2 separate regions of the Homo sapiens genome follow, and region 1 is linked to region 2. Evidence: promoter capture Hi-C in human tissues and cell types (Jung and others, 2019). All regions are on one chromosome and are shown on one strand. Each heading gives the region's core, a stretch centred on a gene start or on the middle of the fragment in contact. The rest is flanking DNA. Distances are from core to core; before and after follow the strand shown. Region 1 overlaps RABEP1 (rabaptin, RAB GTPase binding effector protein 1). Region 2 holds the start of SLC16A11 (solute carrier family 16 member 11).

The links. Contacts are between HindIII fragments. The study calls those that stand out against the background at their distance.
Region 1: a fragment that was not itself captured here is called in contact with the fragment with the promoter of SLC16A11 in region 2 in 1 of the 25 tissues and cell types used here (dorsolateral prefrontal cortex).

What each region holds. Positions count from the first base shown.
Region 1 is chr17:5,362,815-5,365,514 of GRCh38, reverse strand. It overlaps RABEP1 (rabaptin, RAB GTPase binding effector protein 1), which reads right to left. Exons shown (of 18, transcript NM_004703.6): 10 at 2,499-2,603; 11 at 277-393. It overlaps LOC105371505 (a long non-coding RNA gene), which reads left to right and starts at 2,603. Exons shown (of 2, transcript XR_934178.3): 1 at 2,603-2,700. The HindIII fragment of the contact is 7,517 bases long and covers 1-2,700 here.
Region 2 is chr17:7,042,842-7,045,541 of GRCh38, reverse strand. SLC16A11 (solute carrier family 16 member 11) reads left to right here and starts at 1,450. Exons shown (of 5, transcript NM_001370549.1): 1 at 1,450-1,767; 2 at 2,023-2,230; 3 at 2,469-2,612. The coding sequence starts at 2,029. LOC124903909 (a long non-coding RNA gene) reads right to left here and starts at 2,475. Exons shown (of 2, transcript XR_007065598.1): 1 at 2,302-2,475. RefSeq lists silencers at 1,844-1,973, 2,044-2,103. The HindIII fragment of the contact is 14,065 bases long and covers 1-2,700 here.

The sequences.
Region 1 (2,700 bases), core at 44-2,543, 1.7 Mb after region 2:
CAAGTTTCCAGTGCAGCAGGAAAACCTAACTAATACAAATAAAGGAAAGGAGAATCAGAACCTCCTGGCATTTACTGACCAATTATTTTGAAAGTTATTCTTTAAAAATCTGTAAAACAGAGATCACAGAATGATCAGTAAGAAATCTTTTTACCTGAGGGAAAATAAAACTGCCAAATCTTCAAGGCAAAAAAAAACATGACTATATTTTTTGAATCTTTCATTTAAATAACCCAGTCATCCCTCATGGGCCACAGTCTATAAACCCTCCCTTACCTGGTGACTCGAATCTTCGCTGCTTTGCTTTATGAAGTCTTCCAGCTCCTGCTTATCTTTCATTGTCTTCTCTAACTGGTCATTAGCTTGCCTTAGCATCAGCTGTAGTTTTTTCACCTGTATCATTTTAAAAGTCAATTAGAAAAACCAGAATCCTTTTATAATTTTTTTTTTTTTAAATCTAACTCCAGAATTTTAAAAAAAAATCTCTTATGTCTTTTTCTGGGAAACACCACAGATTTTCTAATTCAGACAGAAATTAGATAAATGACCTCAAGAGACAACTGTACTGTGGTTTACAGTTAACAAATCATTTTTCACACACATCTCATCTGAAAACATCTGCTTCTCCCTCAGATCCTCTAGACCATGACACTGTTCTCCCTAACTAGAGTGTATCCTCTGTCTCCAGTCTACAATCCACACTAACACCAGAAATTTTATAAAAGTGAAATAATATAATTTCCCTACTTAAAACTCTAAATGCCTCTCAAAGTCTTCAGGGTAAATTTTTTTTTTTTTTTTTTTGAGACAAGAGTCTCTCGCTCTGCAATCTCGGCTCACTGCAACCTCCACCTCCTGGGGTTCAAGGGATTCTCCTGCCTCAGCCTCCCGAGTAGCTGGGATTACAGGCATGCACCACCACACCTGGCTAATTTTGCATTTTTAGTAGAGGTGGGGTTTCTCCATGTTAGTCAGGCTGGTCTATGAACTCCTAACCTCAGGTGATCGGCCCGCCTCGGCCTCCCAAAGTGCTGGGATTATAGGCGTGAGCCACCATGCCCGGCTTCAGGGTAAAATTTAAATCTCTTCAATCATCACCCCTCCCTAAGTGATGTCTTCATGGCTTTCCCTTGTAGCTTACATTCCCATTATTTCGTAACAGTCACCCCCTGTGCCCAGCCACATAACTACTCATACTTCCTACAATACATCATTTTCTTTCCTAACTCTGTTCTTTGTATATTTTTTCTCTCCATGAACACCCTTTTCCCACTTCTTTTTCTGACTAATTTTTAGCCAGGCTTTAAAACAGTCTACTGAAATGTTTATGAAAACCATTCCTACACCACACTATCAGGGGCCAACTACATTAGTTTTGCAAATACATTTAGAAATTTACCTTTGAAACATCTATGCGTAAAGCACACAGTGTATGAAGGAACTCAATAGCAATGACATTTGAAAATATTAAACCATCATTCTAATTGGCTTGAAGTTATTTTGAAGGCTAAGGGAACAATCTTCATAACAACCAAAGAACAATTTGGAAATATGAGGGAAAAGTATCTTTCTTACGTAGACTTTGACAAGCCCACTCTCATGAATTTCTACATTATTTCCTAACTGCTATCAAGGTGCCCATTATTAAACACTGCACTTGAAAAAGTACTGAAGATTTATCAATCTCAGCATACCAAATCTACCAAAGCTTAATTTCTGGGAACTTATTAACCTTAATTCAACAAATTTATGACAAGAAATGAGTAATATGCACTGAAGGACACAAATTCTGATTAATATAACATTCCATTAAGCCTTTATTCTACTGGAGGCAACAATCAACCTTTTATCTCCCTGAGATCTCCATATCATAAAGTACTTGCCATGTACTTAAAATCACTTTTAGGCCTTAGGCGGAAGGGGCAGGGTGGAAGAGATTAGGTAGTGTCCCTTTAAGAGTTGGGCAGACCTGTGCAGATATACAAAAACAGAGTCCTGGCCGAGCGCGGTGGCTCACACCTGTAATCCCAACACTTTGGGAGGCTGAGGCAGGTGGATCATGAAGTCAGGAGTTTGAGACCATCCTAGGCAACATGGTGAAACCCCATCTCTACTAAAAATACAAAAAATAGCTGGGGGTGGTGGCGTGTCCCTGTAATCCCAGCTACTCGGCAGGCTGAGGGAGAAGAATCACTTGAACCAGGGGGTCGGAAGTTGCAGTGAGCTGAGATCCCCCCTGCACTCCAGCCTGGCAATAGAGCGAGACCCCCTCTCAAAAAAAACAAACAAAAACAAAAACAAAAAAAAAAAAAGCAGAGTCCTAGTGAGCTCCCACTGGAAATGTAACTGCCATTGCATGTACCAGGTTATTTCATAACTTAACAAGATGGATATGCTTCATAATGTAAATGGGGCTGGGGCCGGAGAGGGGGGCAATTAATTCTGCACCTCCAATGAAAACGACAATATCCAATTTGGCGCATCCAGAAGAAACTCACCTGGTCTCTCGTTTCAGCCTCCTGAATCTGAATTCCTTGTAACTGTTTTTCGTAATTGGAACACATATCACAACGTCTACCAAGTTTATTTCCAGCATTATGTACCTGAAGGGCACCAAAATTACCTCTTATCAGGCAAAACAATTCTACATCACACACTTGAGGTACACGTGCATAGTCTTACCAATGGTAGTCAGTAGAA
Region 2 (2,700 bases), core at 201-2,700:
TTGCTTGAGCCTGGGAGGTGGAGGCTGCAGTGAGCCATAATGGCAGTACTACACTTCAGCCTGGACAAGACCCTGTCTCTATAAATAAATACACACACACATACATACATACATACATACATACATACATACATACATACATAATAAAAAATAAAATTCTAACCTAAGTGTTTAGAGATTCTGATCTCAAGAATCCTTTCTATTCCCAGTGACCCCTTATTTTAGACTCATAAGTTTTCTGTCCCTGCAATGGTTCCACCCTTTCCAGGGCAGTTTGCTTCAAGCTGTATCCAGGATCTTTCCCTTAACTGTGCCAGATTTTGTTTCAGTCCTGGGATTGTTCTCCTTGTAGGTCCACAGTTGGACAGACCTAAATTCAAATATCCATACCATTTTTTCCCTGAGAGCTTCAGTTACTGCATCTATAAAAGAGGCACGACATCGGCCAGGCGCGTTGGCTCACTCCTGTAATCCCAGCACTTTGGGAGGCCGAGGTGGGCGGATCATCTGAGGTCAGGAGTTCCAGACCAGCCTGGCCAACATGGCGAAACCCCATCTCTACTAAAAAATACAAAAATTAGCTGGGAGTGGTGGCAGGCGCCCGTAATCCCAGCTACTCAGGAGGCTGAGGCAGGAGAATGGCTTGAACTTAGGAGGCAGAGGTTGCAATGAGCCGAGATCTCGCCACTGTACTCCAGCCTGGGCTACAGAGTGAAACTCCATCTAAAAAAAAAAAAAAAGAAAAGCGACACCTTCTTCATAGGGTTATCATAAGATGAAGTGATAGCATGTGTAAACGGTGCCTGGTACACTGCAGGTCTTCACATTGAGGGAGTCGTGTTTCATCCCTCTGTCCTTGAGGACCTGTTATTTTATTTTATTTATTTTATTTTTGTTTATTTATTTATTTTTGAGACAGAGTCTTTCTCTGTCACCCAGGCTGGAGTGCAGTGGCATGATCTTGGCTCACTGCAACTTCTGCCTCCCGGGTTCAAGCGATTCCCCGCCTCAGCCTCCCAAGTAGCTGGGACTACAGGCGCCCGCCACCACACCCGGCTAATTTTTTTTGTATTTTTAGTAGATATGGTGTTTCGCCATGTTGGTCAGGCTGGCCTCGAACTCCTGACGTCAGGTGATTCACCCACATCGGCCTCCCAAAGTGCTGGGATTACAGGCTTGCACCGCGCCCGGCCTGGGGGTCTGTTATTCTAAGCACAGAGCTGGCACTTGGTGGAGGTCTGTGATCTGATTGATATCCGAGATTTACCTGGTCCTCGGCAACGTTCCTGAGAACAAAACTACTCATCCCCTCAGGTTTTGGGGACCATCCCTATTTCCACGCGTTGGCGGTGGACCCTGGGCTCGCTGGGGTTTGCAATCCACGTGTCTCCCCTGCGCGCAGCAGGCGGCAGGTGCATGCGTGTGAGTAGGGCAGGGCCCCTCTGCATTCATTTCTCGCCGCTCCCCCCTCCCCCGGGCCTGGGGGTTGTGTGTGTACATAATTCAATCCCCGTGGGACTGGCGTCTGGCCTCACGCGCGGCTTGCCGGATTGGCTGTTTCAGCTCGCCCCCGCCCTCCGTACACCCCGCGTCCCAGGTGGCTCAGGCCCCTGTGGTGATCTCTGTTTACCGAGAGAGCCCGTCCAAGTTGGGCTCCATCGCTGCCCTCGCTCCCCTTCGGGGCCCCCGCCCGCCTGGGAAGCAGAGAGAAAGCCGGGCCCAGCCCTTCCTCACCCTTCCCCTCCCCGCACCGCCCGGAGAGGTCGGGTAAGGGGGAAGGAGTGTGCGTGGGACGGGGAACCTCGGGCCTGGGGATCTGGCTGTCCCCGTCCCCGTACCTCGCGCGGACCCGGGAGTTCCAGCCCTAGGCCAGGCTCCGGCTCCCTCCGCCCCGCGCCATCGCGCTCGGAGTGACGGGCCCACCCCGGGCGAGCAGCCAGAGGCTGGATCTCAGGGATGCCAGCTCCCCAGCGGAAGCACAGGCGTGGAGGCTTCTCTCACAGATGTTTCCCCACCCCGCAGACGGCGATGACCCCCCAGCCCGCCGGACCCCCGGATGGGGGCTGGGGCTGGGTGGTGGCGGCCGCAGCCTTCGCGATAAACGGGCTGTCCTACGGGCTGCTGCGCTCGCTGGGCCTTGCCTTCCCTGACCTTGCCGAGCACTTTGACCGAAGCGCCCAGGACACTGCGTGGATCAGCGCCCTGGCCCTGGCCGTGCAGCAGGCAGCCAGTGAGGGGGGCCCTGAGGCGGGAGACAGGAACGGGGAGGAGGAGCCGTGAGTGGAGGGATGGGAGACCCACCTGATTACCCGACAACCTGAGAAAGGGCAACCGGCTCTAGAAAAGAGTGCATCTTGAGGTCAAGGAGAAGAACCATTAGTTCGAGGGAGGCAAACAGCCAATGAGAAGTGTTGGAGAGAGTTTGGGGGCCCGGGGGCGTGTCTTCCGTTGACTCCGCCCCCTTTCAGGCCCCGTGGGCAGCGCCCTGAGCACGCGCTGGGGGGCCCGCCCCGTGGTGATGGTTGGGGGCGTCCTCGCCTCGCTGGGCTTCGTCTTCTCGGCTTTCGCCAGCGATCTGCTGCATCTCTACCTCGGCCTGGGCCTCCTCGCTGGTGAGGGAAGTGGGATGCCCGGGTCATTCAGGGTGAAGGAGGTGACAGGAGCTTGTTGGGATCTGGGGTAGCGAACGAGGCGGGGGCC